Regions from separate parts of the Homo sapiens genome. Here regions 1 and 3 are each linked to region 2. The links are contacts of gene promoters, found by promoter capture Hi-C in blood cells and fetal thymus (Javierre and others, 2016). All regions are on one chromosome and are shown on one strand. The core of a region is centred on a gene start or on the middle of the fragment in contact, and the rest is flanking DNA. Distances in the headings are between cores, read along the strand shown. Region 1 has its middle 9.7 kb from the start of SSU72-AS1. Region 2 holds the start of VWA1 (von Willebrand factor A domain containing 1). Region 3 holds the start of TNFRSF18 (TNF receptor superfamily member 18).

What was found. The method cuts DNA at HindIII sites, captures the fragments that hold promoters and counts their contacts. A CHiCAGO score of 5 or more calls a contact.
Region 1: a contact is called between a fragment that was not itself captured here and the fragment with the promoter of VWA1 in region 2, in 1 of 17 cell types (M1 macrophages). The highest score is 5.0, in M1 macrophages.
Region 3: a contact is called between the fragment with the promoter of TNFRSF18 here and the fragment with the promoter of VWA1 in region 2, in 8 of 17 cell types (neutrophils, erythroblasts, naive CD4 T cells and 5 more). The highest score is 10.7, in neutrophils.

The regions. Positions count from the first base shown.
Region 1 is chr1:1,582,684-1,586,618 of GRCh38, reverse strand. No RefSeq gene overlaps it. Among named protein-coding and RNA genes, the nearest start is that of SSU72-AS1, 9.7 kb to the right of the region's middle. The HindIII fragment of the contact is 1,469 bases long and covers 1,583-3,051 here.
Region 2 is chr1:1,434,265-1,438,421 of GRCh38, reverse strand. VWA1 (von Willebrand factor A domain containing 1) reads right to left here and starts at 2,732. Exons shown (of 3, transcript NM_022834.5): 1 at 2,601-2,732; 2 at 938-1,495. The coding sequence starts at 2,673. LOC107985729 reads right to left here. Exons shown (of 4, transcript XM_017003066.2): 3 at 4,020-4,157; 4 at 2,873-3,886. The coding sequence ends at 3,272. It overlaps LINC01770 (long intergenic non-protein coding RNA 1770), which reads left to right and starts at 3,849. Exons shown (of 2, transcript NR_125996.1): 1 at 3,849-4,157. RefSeq lists silencers at 2,615-2,804, 2,563-2,932, 3,679-3,973 and enhancers at 3,759-3,818, 3,078-3,821. The HindIII fragment of the contact is 8,860 bases long and covers 629-4,157 here.
Region 3 is chr1:1,205,138-1,208,893 of GRCh38, reverse strand. It overlaps TNFRSF18 (TNF receptor superfamily member 18), which reads left to right and starts at 2,302. Exons shown (of 5, transcript NM_004195.3): 1 at 2,302-2,509; 2 at 3,402-3,524. The coding sequence starts at 2,323. RefSeq lists silencers at 557-646, 3,519-3,719 and an enhancer at 1-722. The HindIII fragment of the contact is 24,444 bases long and covers 1-3,756 here.

The DNA.
Region 1 (3,935 bases), core at 1,068-3,567, 150 kb before region 2:
TAGTCCCAGGTCCCAGCTACTTGGAAGGTTGAGGCAGGAGAATGGCATGAACCCGGGAGGCGGAGCTTGCAGTGAGCCAAGATCGCGCCACTGCACTCCAGCCTGGGTGACAGAGTGAGACCTCGTCCCAAAAAAGAAAAAGAAGAGTTTATTTAATGTGAGAACAGCATCCTCCCGGTGAGTGTTGAGCTCTTGGCAGACAGGAGGCTGGAGAGGGCGGCTCCTCTCCACAGGAAGTCGTTTGGATGTCTCCGCAGGTCTCAGGCTCTCCACAGACAGGGTAGAGGTAGCTCCTCTCTGCTGACAGGTTGTCTGGGCAGCTCTCAGCGGAGGACAGAGGAGAAGGTACTCCTCTCTGCAGCTGGTCATCCTGGTCGCCTCCCTGCCCTCTTCCTCTTCTGGCTGTCCTCTTCGAATAAATATCATTTTCTGCTAGAGAACCCCTCTCTGTTATTTAGTTTGACATAAATGATGCTCTGAAACAGGACCTGAAGGAAGGTCACTTTAAGAAGGAACTGGCGGTTCTTGGAGCCAGTGCCCCATGCTCGCCGAGCCCTATGGGCTCTCTGCTTCCGTGGTTCGCATGCTCTGCCTTGGAGAATCTTCTGTGGCTGTGCTTCCCTCTTTTTAAAATTGCATTTTATTATTATTATTATTATTATTATTATTTAAGACATGGTCTCTCTGTGTTGCCCAGGCTGGAGTGGAGTGGCACAGTGTTGGCTCACTGAAGCCTCAACATCCCAGGCTCAAGCGATTCTCCCACCTCAGCCTCCTCAGTAGCTGGGACCACAGGCTGGTTCTACTATGTCCAGATAATTTTTGTTTGCTTGTTTGTTTTTAAAAAAAGAGTCTTGGCTGGGCGCGGTATCTCACACCTGTAATGCCAGCACTTTGGGAGGCCGAGGCAGGTGGATCACGAGGTCAGAAGTTCGAGACCATCCTGGCTAACACGGTGAAACCCTGTCTCTACTAAAAATACAAAAAATTAGCCGGGCGTGGTGGCGGGTGCCTGTAGTCCCAGCTATTTGGGAGGCTGAGGCAGGAGAATGGCGTGAACCTGGGAGGCAGAGCTTGCAGTGAGCTGAGATTGCGCCATTGCACTCCAGCCTGGGCGACACAGCGAGACTCCATCTCAAAAAAAAAATTAGCCAGGCGTGGTGGCGGGCACTTGTAGTCCCAGCTACTTGGGAGGCTGAGGCAGAAGAATGGCATGAACCCGGGAGGTGAAGCTTGCAGTGAGCCGAGATTGCACCACTGCACTCCAGCCTGGGCAATAGAGCAAGACTCCGTCTCAAAACAAACAAACAAACAAATAAACAAACAAAAAAAGTTAGCTGGACATGGTGGCATGCACCTGTAATCCCAGCTAGTCTAGAGGCTGAGGCAGGAGAATCGCTTGAACTCACAAGGCAGAGGTTGCAGTGAGCCAAGATTGCACCGCTGCACTCCAGCCTGGACTGCAGAGTGAGATTCTGTTTCAAAAGAAAACAAAACAACAACGAAAGTTACTGGGTCTGTCGCCACCATCTGAAACAGTGGTCCATGTGCTTGACAATTCCTGATAGGATCTATGGAAGCTTCTTTGCTCTTCAGAAAATAAGAAGAAATGAAATGGGATTCTCAAACATTAAGTCACAGCAGATTTTTTGGTTCTCCAGCAGGCTATATTATGGCCCAACTTGGGCAAACTGTACTTATTTATCTTTCTTTTTAATTTTTCTCAGCTTCTGTTCTGCTCTAACTCAGGCACATTTTAAAACTGATGGGTGGCCAGGCACGGTGGCTCACGCCTGTAATCCCAACACTTTGGGAGGCTAAAGTGGGAGGATCACGAGGTCAGGAGTTCGAGACCAGCCTGGCCAACATGGTGAAACCCCGTCTCTACTAAAAATACAAAAAATTAGCCAGGCGTGGTGGCACACGCCTGTAATTGCAACTACTCAGGAGGCTGAGGCAAGAAAATTGCTTGAACCCGGGACGCAGAGGTTGCACTGAGCCAAGATCATGCCACTGCACTCCAGCCTGGTCGACACAGCAAGGCGCTGTCTCAAAAACAAAAACAAAAACAAAAAAACCCCAAAACTGGCCGGGCACGGTGGCTCACGCCTGTAATCCTGGCACTTTGGGAGGCTGAGGTGGGTGGATCACAAGGTCAGGAGACTGAGACCATCCTGGCTAATCGGTGAAATCCCGTCTCTACTAAAAATACAAAAAATTAGCCGGGTGTGGTGGTGGGTGCCTGTAGTCCCAGTTACTCGGGAGGCTGAGGCAGGAGAATGGTGTGAACCTGGGAGATGGAGCTTGCAGTAAGCTGAGATTGCGCCACTGCACTCCAGCCTGGGCCACAGCGAGACTCCGTCTCAAAAAAAAAAAAAAAAAATTAATTGGCGGGCGCGGTGGCTCACGCCTGTAATCCCAGCACTTTGGGAGGCCGAGGCGGGCGGATCATCTGAGGTCTGGAGTCTGAGACCAGCCTGACCAACATGGAGAAACCCCATCTCTACTAAAAATACAAAATTAATGGCGCATGCCTGTAATCCCAGCTACTCGGGAGGCTGAAGCAGAAGAATTGCTTGAACCCGGGAGACAGAGGTTGTGGTGAGCTGAGATCATGCCATTGCACTCCAGCCTGGGCAACAAGAGCAAAACTCCATCTCAAAAAAAAAAAAAAAATTTTTATGCTTTGGGGCAGTGGCAGTGGTAACGGGGCTGTGTGCAGGAGGAGCATCGATCGGGCAGGGTGGATGTGGGCTGGGGCAGCCCCGGGTCCCAGGCCCTGCAACGGTGTGCAGGGCGGGAGTGCCCAGTCGGGCTGCATTCCCAGGTGCACGGCGTGCCACTGAGCTGCTCACGTAGCTGCCACCATCTGTGCTGGGCCCAGCCGAGACGCAGAACCTCGTGGACATGACCTAGGAAGACCCAGACAGTGTGCCCCACGGATGTCCTGGATCAAAGGGACCCAGGTTGGTGATTACTTCTACTCCTTTGGCGGCTGTTATTGGCACGCAGCCTACCGGTAGCTGCAGCAAGGGCCATCCTGGACAAGCTTGTGCAGTCCACCCTCTCGGACCTCAGGGTGTACCTGGGGGCATCCACGCCAGACTTGTAGGAGCAGTCCCCATGGCACCGACTGACACTTCTAAGAGCCCAGAAGATACATCTGGCCCCCGTAGGCTGGGCTGGCAGAAGGGATAGCTGAGATGCGTTCTCTTTGCACTTGGTGGGGAGGGTCTGACTCGAGACACTTCCCCAACAGTAGGGAATAAAATTGTCATGGTTGAATAGACCGATTGTGGATTGTGTTCCATCTACTGAGACTGGCACACTGCCTCCTGAAATGAAAGTGGATCTCATCACCAGAGGAGAAATGAGGAACTGCGTATCAGCTAGCCTTCACTGTGTAACAGACCATCCCAAAATTTGGCAGCAAAAACAGGTCACGTATTTGTCCACAATTCTGTGGGTTGGCAATCTGCACTGGGCTCACCTGCGGACCCTCATGGAGCTGTGGTCATTTGTCACATCCGCTACACCTGGATGGTCTAGGACAGCCTGACTCACTTGTCTGGCAGGTGACAGGTTGTTGGTTGGGGTGGCCTGTCTAGCAGGCTGCTTCAGCCTTAGGGCTCCAGGAGAGTGAGAGTAGAAGCTGCAAGATTTCTTGGGTTCTGGGCCTGGAACTGGGGCTGGGACAACGTCAGTTCTACTAAGTTCTTTTGATCAGAGCAAATCACAAGGCTTTGCCCGGATTCAAGGGATGAGAAAGAGACCGTATGTCTTGATGAGAGGAACCACAAAGAATGTGTGGCCATTTTTCACCTAATGCAAATAACTTTGGGTGGGGAAATAACAATATTTATCTCTCTCAGGGGACCTCACTCTGCCTAGTCTGAAGGCAAAAAGACACTGTCCTGGCCGTCAGGGTCTTGGGG
Region 2 (4,157 bases), core at 1,483-3,982:
CCACCCTCAGACCCGGCCTCTTTCCCAGGAGCCCCCACCCTGCTGCCTGGCCCCTCGGCACTGCAGCCTCAGGCTTTTCCTTTGGCTGCTTAAGGCAGCCTTTCCTCCTGGTCCCCTCCAGGCGCAGCTGCACTGGGTGACCTGGGGCCACTAGGGGCCAGACGTCCCTGGGGAAACCTTGGGGAGGGCCGTCCACCCCTCTCCAACCCACAGTCCAACCCCTTCCGGCTCTGGGTGGATGATTAACCCACAGACGGAGACTTGGTGAGATCCCCAGGGTTGGCATTTTTCAGTGGCTGCAGCAGGCTGAGCCAGTGGCCGGTTCCTCATCTCCAGCCCCAGCTCCTTCAGGGCTTGGCTGGGGCAGGGAGGTCCAGAAAAAAAGCCAATGGGAGCTGCTCAGCTCCTGCCTCAGGCCTTCCCTGGTCCGGCCTCTCAGGAAACCCTCACAGTGGGCCTGCAGTCCGAACTAGTTCAAAGCCCTCGGCGGCTGTCCCCACCCAGGAGAGGTGCCCTGTGCTCTCTGGGGGGGCAGTCCCTGACCTTTCTGGCTCACCCCTCTCCAGGTATGGTGGGCATGCTCAGGAGCACATGCTGCCCATCTGCAGAGTCCCCAGACTTGGAAGCTTCTTCCTGGGCCTACACCCGGGCTCTGCACTCCCTGGGGCCTCGAGGTCTGGGCTGGACACATCAGCAGGGAGCTACACCTGGAGGTGGCTACTCAAGCCTGCCCCCGTCTCAGCAGGGTACACGGGTCGCCCAGTGAAGAGTGTGCATAGACAAGCTGCATCACTCAGCCCTGCACCCTAGGGGTACCACAGCCCCGGAGGCCCTGGCCGCTGCTCTGGGGACATGAGATCTTCCCAAAGTCTCAACCCAGCCTCTCCTTCTGCGGCTCCCAGCTAGGGCTCCCTGGGCCCTGCCTCCTCCCGCATACCGAGAATGGAGCCCCTCAGCTCTTGGACAATGATGTGCAGGTCATCCACGTCCACAAAGTGCAGGTGCTTCTCGGCAGGGGCTGAGGCAGCGGCTGACAGCTCCAGGAAGTTGCCTCGGCCGGTGCTGACAATGAACACGGTGACGCCCAGGTCCTTGAGCTCCTGCATGGGGGGGCCCACAGGGTCGCTGGAGCCGCCATCTGTCACCCACACCAGCACTTTGGGCACCCCTGGCCGGGCACCTGATGCTTCAGCAAACAGCTGTTCCTTGGCATAGACCAGCGCCAGGCCAGTGTGGGTGTCACCCATGCGCTGGGCAGAAGCACGCACCGCATCCTGGGCAGCCTCACCCGAGCTGTGCTGGCCGAAGGGGAACTCGGTGTATGGCCGACTGCCCACGTGCACCAGACTGGCACGCAGGGCCCCGGTGCCCAGGGGCAGTGGAGCCACCAGCTGCCCCACAAACTCCCGAACCCGGGAGAACTCGTAGTGAGAGACGCTGGCTGAGCTGTCCAGCAGGAACATCAGGTCCCCTCGGGGGGCTGATGCTGGTGGACCTGGGGGAAAGGAGGAATGCTCAGCCTCAGGTGTGGGCCCCCCAGACAGCCCCACAGCAAGGCAGGGTCCCCCAGGGCCCCAGCTTTCCTTAAGTGGATGCTTGCCTTCTCCCAAAGGTCCTAGGTTGGGGGAAAGAGGAACTCTAAGCAAGAGGCCTGTACTTTTGGGGGTTTCACTGCACACTGGCCATGGGATCTAGGGCTCTCTCTGGGCTTGTGTTATCCCATCTGTGAGAGGGCGACTCTCCGCTCCAAGCCCCCACACCTTCCCATTCCTCACAGACCCTGCAAGCAGGTGGAGCCAAGAGTCCTGGCCTAGGCCCCCAGGACAGGCCTGAGCCGTGGGGCTGTTCCCTCCAGGCATGGCTTTCAGAGGAGCAGCCTGAGGCTGGAGTTCAGCCACGCAGCTCAGCCTGCAGGTGAGGCACCCTGGGCATGCACACAGCAGCAGGGGAAGGTGTCGGAGGCACAGCAATGACCACGCCGGATGGCCTGGCTGGAGCCCAGACCCCGCTTACTAGATGGTGGCCCCTCCCCTGGCCTCCATCCTCCAGCCCACCTGGACTCACACAACAAGATATAACCCCCAGCAGCCTGAAAGCCGGAACAGCCCCTCGCAGGCTTCCCCCTTCCTCCGGGCACCTCCGGGGTGGAGGCTGATGCCCCCTACACCGCCCCTCCCCACCAAGCCAGGGCACCAGCGTGCCTCAATTCTAGTCCCGGCCTTGCGGTTTTCCCCAGTGCGGTGGGGCGACTCCAACTTCCCTACCATCCCTCCACTAAGGGCCCTCGCAAGGGTAGGGAAACTGAGGCAGGGGTGCCCCCTTGACAGACATCTCCCTCTTCCTGTCCAGGCCCGCGATCCCGCAGAGATGCGGGCCGGGACGGCCCCTATGCCCCGGCGCTCACGGACGGTGTCGCCTGGAGCACCTGGGCCGCCAGCCTCAGGTGAGCAGGACGCTCCGCCCGCGCCCCCGCCCGGCTCCCGCAGCCTCCCAGCCCGCCCGCCCGTCCGGAGCAGGGGACAGCGACGGCCTTGCGCGGGCAGCGGCGCAGAGCGGTCACCAGAAGCCCCAGCCCCGGCCCGGCCGCCCGCCGCACTCACCGCGCTCCGCGCCGCTCCGCGCCAGCGCCAGCCGCAAGCTCAGGGCCAGGCCGAGCGCCGTCCAGGGGAGCATCGCGCGCGAGGGACGGGGCGCGCTCGGCAACTCGCTCGCTCGCTCGCTCGCTCGGGGCTGCAGGGCGCGTCACCGCGCGGACCAGGCCGGCCCCGCCCCCGGGAGGCCCCTCCCCGAGCGGCCACACCCACGCCGAGGCCACGCCCACGCCCTCCGGCGCGAGCGGAGGGCCACGCGCACAGACCCCGGAGAGGCGCGCACGAGCGGACCCCGACACGCAGGGACACGCAGCACCAGCCGAGATACGACCGAGGCACGCACGCGCAGGCACGCACACACACACACTCCAGTCTCCCTCTCCCGGCCGAGGCTGTGCGGCCCACGCTCTCCACCCCTCTCCGACCCCCAGCCGCGGGAGCCGAGCAGGGAGGTACCAGGCTAGGCCCTCCCCATGCCCACCACTGCCGTGACTCTGGGTGCTGGGGTCCCAGCAGCCAGGCCCAAGAGAACCCCAGGGGCTGGCGGTGGCACCAAAAAAACACGTCCAGACCGTGGTTTCGCCTTGGCCTCCGCGCTGGAGGCGGATAGGTGTCTGGAGTAACAGGACATGTATCCCAGGGACTGACCAGCAGGGATGGGAAGGACCATGGGGTGGAACTTACAAGGACACAGTGGCTTGAAAGGGGACAGAAGACAGGAATTCGAGAGAGACTCGAAGCACCCACGCCACCTGGGCTTCTTGGAGGAAGAGGCATGGGAGTGGGAGATGGTTGGTTGAGGCCCTGTCCAGTGGGACCACACTGGGCCTGTTACCCATATACCCTACCCAGTGAGGGGCCCAGACTCCAGGACCCAGGACACACCCCCAGCAGGACTGGAGGGTCCCACTGGTGAGACAGGAGCTCTTGAGTCTTGGGGTCTTGGTGAGGCCCAGACGAGAGGTGGCTGGTTGCAGGGGGCGTCCTGAGGGACAGTGGCTCCCAGGGCAGATTTCCCCTGCTTGGGTGGGGCTGGGCCAGCAGTGTCCCCTGGACAGGAGAACCCTACCCCGGCCCTCCCTCGGAGTAGCCATGGCCCTCTTCCAGGGCCTCCTCAGCTCAGAGCTGGGAGGTGGGGGACGTGGGGGGGTGTCTGCCAGGATGTCTCCTCCTTCCCCACCCTCTCCTGGAGGATGCGCCGCGGGAGAACGGATGGGGCTCCACAGGCTTCCTTCCTCCCTTTCAGGCAGGTGAGACACCGCGGGGCCGTGCGGACGGCCAGCACTCGACTTTGCCTAAAAAAGGAAGCAGCAGGCTGAGGCTGAGGAGCTGGCGGCAGGAACAAGGGAGAGCTGTGTCCCCGCCGGCGCCCCCCACCCCCCCTGCCGGGGATCTTGGCAGTGGAGGTGCTGGCTGCGCTCCACAGACCTCAGACCTCGGCTGGGACCAGAAATGCCTGGTGCTTCCGCCTGGGCCCGGTGGGGGGACTTTGGGTCCCCAGAGTGCAAGCTGTACCACTTCGAGGGGCCTCGCCAGGCCCCCCAGCCCCCAGTACACAGGGGCTGC
Region 3 (3,756 bases), core at 1,053-3,552, 230 kb after region 2:
GGCGGGTGGGTGGGGGAAGGGGTCAGGTGGCCGGGACTGGAGCGGCCAGATCCTGTGGGGCCCGCAGGTCGACGGCTATGGGAAAGGGGCCTCCTCCCCAAACCTGGCGCCCATACCCATCGCTTCCTGTCTCCTCCCCTCTGGGCACAGCACCCCCCAGGCCCCGTGGGACTTATTCCCCAGCAGGACCCCTTGCCGCACCCCCAGATGGACACGGGGCCACCTCCTCTTGGTCTCCATGCTCACCCTCCCCGCCCCCTCGCCTGACGCCATCTCTGCTGGCAACTCCTGTGCCATCTGTGCCGAAGGCCCTGCCTGAACTCTGGCTCAGTGCCCATCTGCACCCTCCCCGTGGGGCCTCACAGCTGCCCTTCTGGACGTACGCAAGGGCTGTCCCTCGCCCGGCCCGTGGGCTGCTCTGCTGTGTGAATGCCCCGTCATTTGTGTCACCGGTGAGCTGCTCAATAAGATGAACAAGTCACCTCCAGCCTCGCAGCCCAAGGATAGGAGTCACGGGGAGCCGGGGAGGGGCCTTCTGCGGCGAGAGGGATGGGAGGGTGGACGTCACACCCCTGCAGCCCCTCCGGGGACCACCCTGTGTGGCAAGCTGCTCTCCGGCTGTTCAAAGTGTCAGCTGCGCCACGGGGCGGGGGGGAGGGGCTCCTCTGCCCGCTGGCCGCCTCCCACTTGGCCCCATAAACTGCTCGCTCCTCTAACTCTGTCCCTGCCTCTAGATGGATGACTCACACCGTGTGGTCTGATGAGCATTCTTTATTTTTTGTGATGGAGTCTCGCTCTGTCACCCAGGCTGGAGTGCAATGGTGCCATCTTGGTTCGCCGCAACCTCTGCCTCCCAGGTTCAAGCAATTCTCCTGCCTCAGCCTCCCGAGTAGCTGGGATTACAGGCGTGCGCCACCACGCCTGGCTAATTTTTTTTGTATTTTTAGTAGAGACGGGCTTTCTCCATGTGGGTCAGGCTGGTCTCGAACCCCTGACCTCAGGTGATCCGAGGCCCACCTCGGCCTCCCAAAATGCTGGGATTACGGGCGTGAGCCACTGATGGCGCCTCTTTCTATCCAGGGGCCCAGACCCCCTCCCAGCCTCGGGGCTGAAGATCTCCAGGCCTCTCAAAGGCCCCCAGGCCCAGCTGGCCCCACCCCTTTCCTTCCGAGCGTCGGGGCGGCCTGGAGCTGCAGAGACCCCTTCCTTCTCTGCAGTGTCTGAGGGCTGCCTCTCCAAGGCAGGCTCCTACATCTTGGATTTGAGAACTCCGGGGTGTCACAAACAGCTAATTCCTGTCATTTACCTTGGAAAAGGAGGAACCGCCTTACGGGGTGAGGCGGTGGCTGCAGGTCTCAAAAGGGTGTTGAACCACATCCACGCTCACGTTCCCGAGAGCCCCCACCCCCAGCATTCATGGGGGTCTCCACCTGTGCTGGACGGCGCAGAAGCAGGGCTGGGCAATCCAGGGAGGCTTCCTGGTGGAGGCAGGGTCCCAGAACCCCTCGGTGCCCACAGGGGAAACTGAGGCTCAGAAAGACATAGGACAGTCTCCCAAGAGCTCTGCGAGGGGCTCCTCCTCAACTCCCTCCGGGACCTGGATCTGTCTGGTGTGACGGATGAAGGTGGCTCTGAGAGACCGGGCCCTGGGTGCCCGCGGGGGCGGCTGACACTGTCCCGAGGAGGCGCCAGCACCCTCTCGTCTCCCCACCAGCTCCTCCTGGTGCCCCTCCCAAGCCCCGGGGAACTTCCCAGGTTGGCCTGAGGGGGGTCCTGGAGAGCTGCAAGCAAGGGGGAGGGGAGCCCACAGGCCTGCAGCCCATGGTGAGTTTCACACCTGAAGCCAGCCAGGTGGGGTGTGCTGAGCCGAGGGGTCCCTGTCCCCATTCTGTGGGGTTCCCCAGCACGGGGCTCCATGGTTGAGGCTCTCTGGGGGTGGCCAGAATTTGTGGAGACCTCTCGGGGACTCGCAGATACCACCCGGAGGCAGTGGGATGGAGGAGTGATTGGCTGACCCCCGCCCTCCAAGGGGCCCCCATGGGACAAGGTGCTATAAACGCCGCCCCCTGCACTGGGGACACCAATGTGGCCGCAGACTTTGCATAGAAAACCTTTCTGATCCCCGCCAGCCTGGTTTCCCCGCCCCTGCCGGCGACCTGCGGGGGACCGGGCTGTGTCCGCAGTGTCTACACCCCCTCCTCACACGCACTTCACCTGGGTCGGGATTCTCAGGTCATGAACGGTCCCAGCCACCTCCGGGCAGGGCGGGTGAGGACGGGGACGGGGCGTGTCCAACTGGCTGTGGGCTCTTGAAACCCGAGCATGGCACAGCACGGGGCGATGGGCGCGTTTCGGGCCCTGTGCGGCCTGGCGCTGCTGTGCGCGCTCAGCCTGGGTCAGCGCCCCACCGGGGGTCCCGGGTGCGGCCCTGGGCGCCTCCTGCTTGGGACGGGAACGGACGCGCGCTGCTGCCGGGTTCACACGACGCGCTGCTGCCGCGATTACCCGGGTAAGTAAACCGCGTTTACTTAACGCGGACCGGCCAAGGCGTCCCGCGGAAGCCGGGATGGGTGGGCGCCCCCCTTCCCGTGCTCAGACCGGCGTTGCTGAGGTCTAAGGAGGGTGGGCACAGAGCCGCCAGCAGCGGGAGCCTTCCGGAGGGAGGCAGGATCCCAGAGGGAGGCGGAGGTGTGCCAGCTCCAGCCAGTGGCCCCGGCCGGGAGCAGGGGTGAGCCAGGTGGGAGCGCCCTCAAGAGGGGTCTGGGGTCTGGAGGTGGAGGACGGCTGTTCCAGGTCCTGCTGGGCGGGTCGTGAGCCCTTGGCCATCGCCCAGCCCCCTCCTGCCCAGTTGAGGGCCCCCCTGCACCACCGTCTGGCCTGCTGCCTGCCTCTGACCTGCACCTGGGGATGAGGGTTCAGCTGACACGGCTGGTCTGGAGAGGAAGCTGGCAGGGAAGTCACCCCAGAGCTTCTTCCTCCAGGGCCTGTGGGTTGGGAAGGGAGGCTCTGTCCGGAGGCCCAGTGTGGCTGGTGGTGGGGACAGCAGCGCCCAGACACCAGGCAGGCGGCCTCTGAGGTGTCGACGGGCCTCCAGGGGACTGTGCACTGTTGGGGGCCACCCCTGGGTCCTGCAGGGGCAGCTCCTGGTTGCATATGGAGTTAGCACCTGGGCAGGGGCAGCTGTGGGGCGCAAAGGGGGAGTAGCCAGGCCACATGGCCCCAGGAGAAAGAGACAGCTGGATAAACCCAGGGTCCAGACTCCCAGCCAGGAGCCCTCTGCTCCCTGGAGCCAACTGTGGGTGGAGAACGGACAACCTCACTCCCCTGGAGGGCCGAGGGGAGGCCTGGGGAGGAGGGGGCCTCAGCCCAGCTGCTGGGGGGCTGGCCTGTCTCCTGCCCAGGCGAGGAGTGCTGTTCCGAGTGGGACTGCATGTGTGTCCAGCCTGAATTCCACTGCGGAGACCCTTGCTGCACGACCTGCCGGCACCACCCTTGTCCCCCAGGCCAGGGGGTACAGTCCCAGGGTAAGTCCTGGAGGTGCCTCTGGGAGTCCACACAGGCCAGGGGTTCCACTAGGGCCCGAGGCAGAGCTCGTGGGCACAGGTGTCCGGCGAGGACATGTGGTGTGTGGGGTCCGGAGTCCTGTGAGGCCGGGCAGGCCAGGCCATGCTCAGGCACCACAGGCCATGAAGCTCTGGGGGTGTCCTGTCCCTGCTTTCTCAGCCTGGGCTTCTCCATCCAGCACGAGGGCTGTGA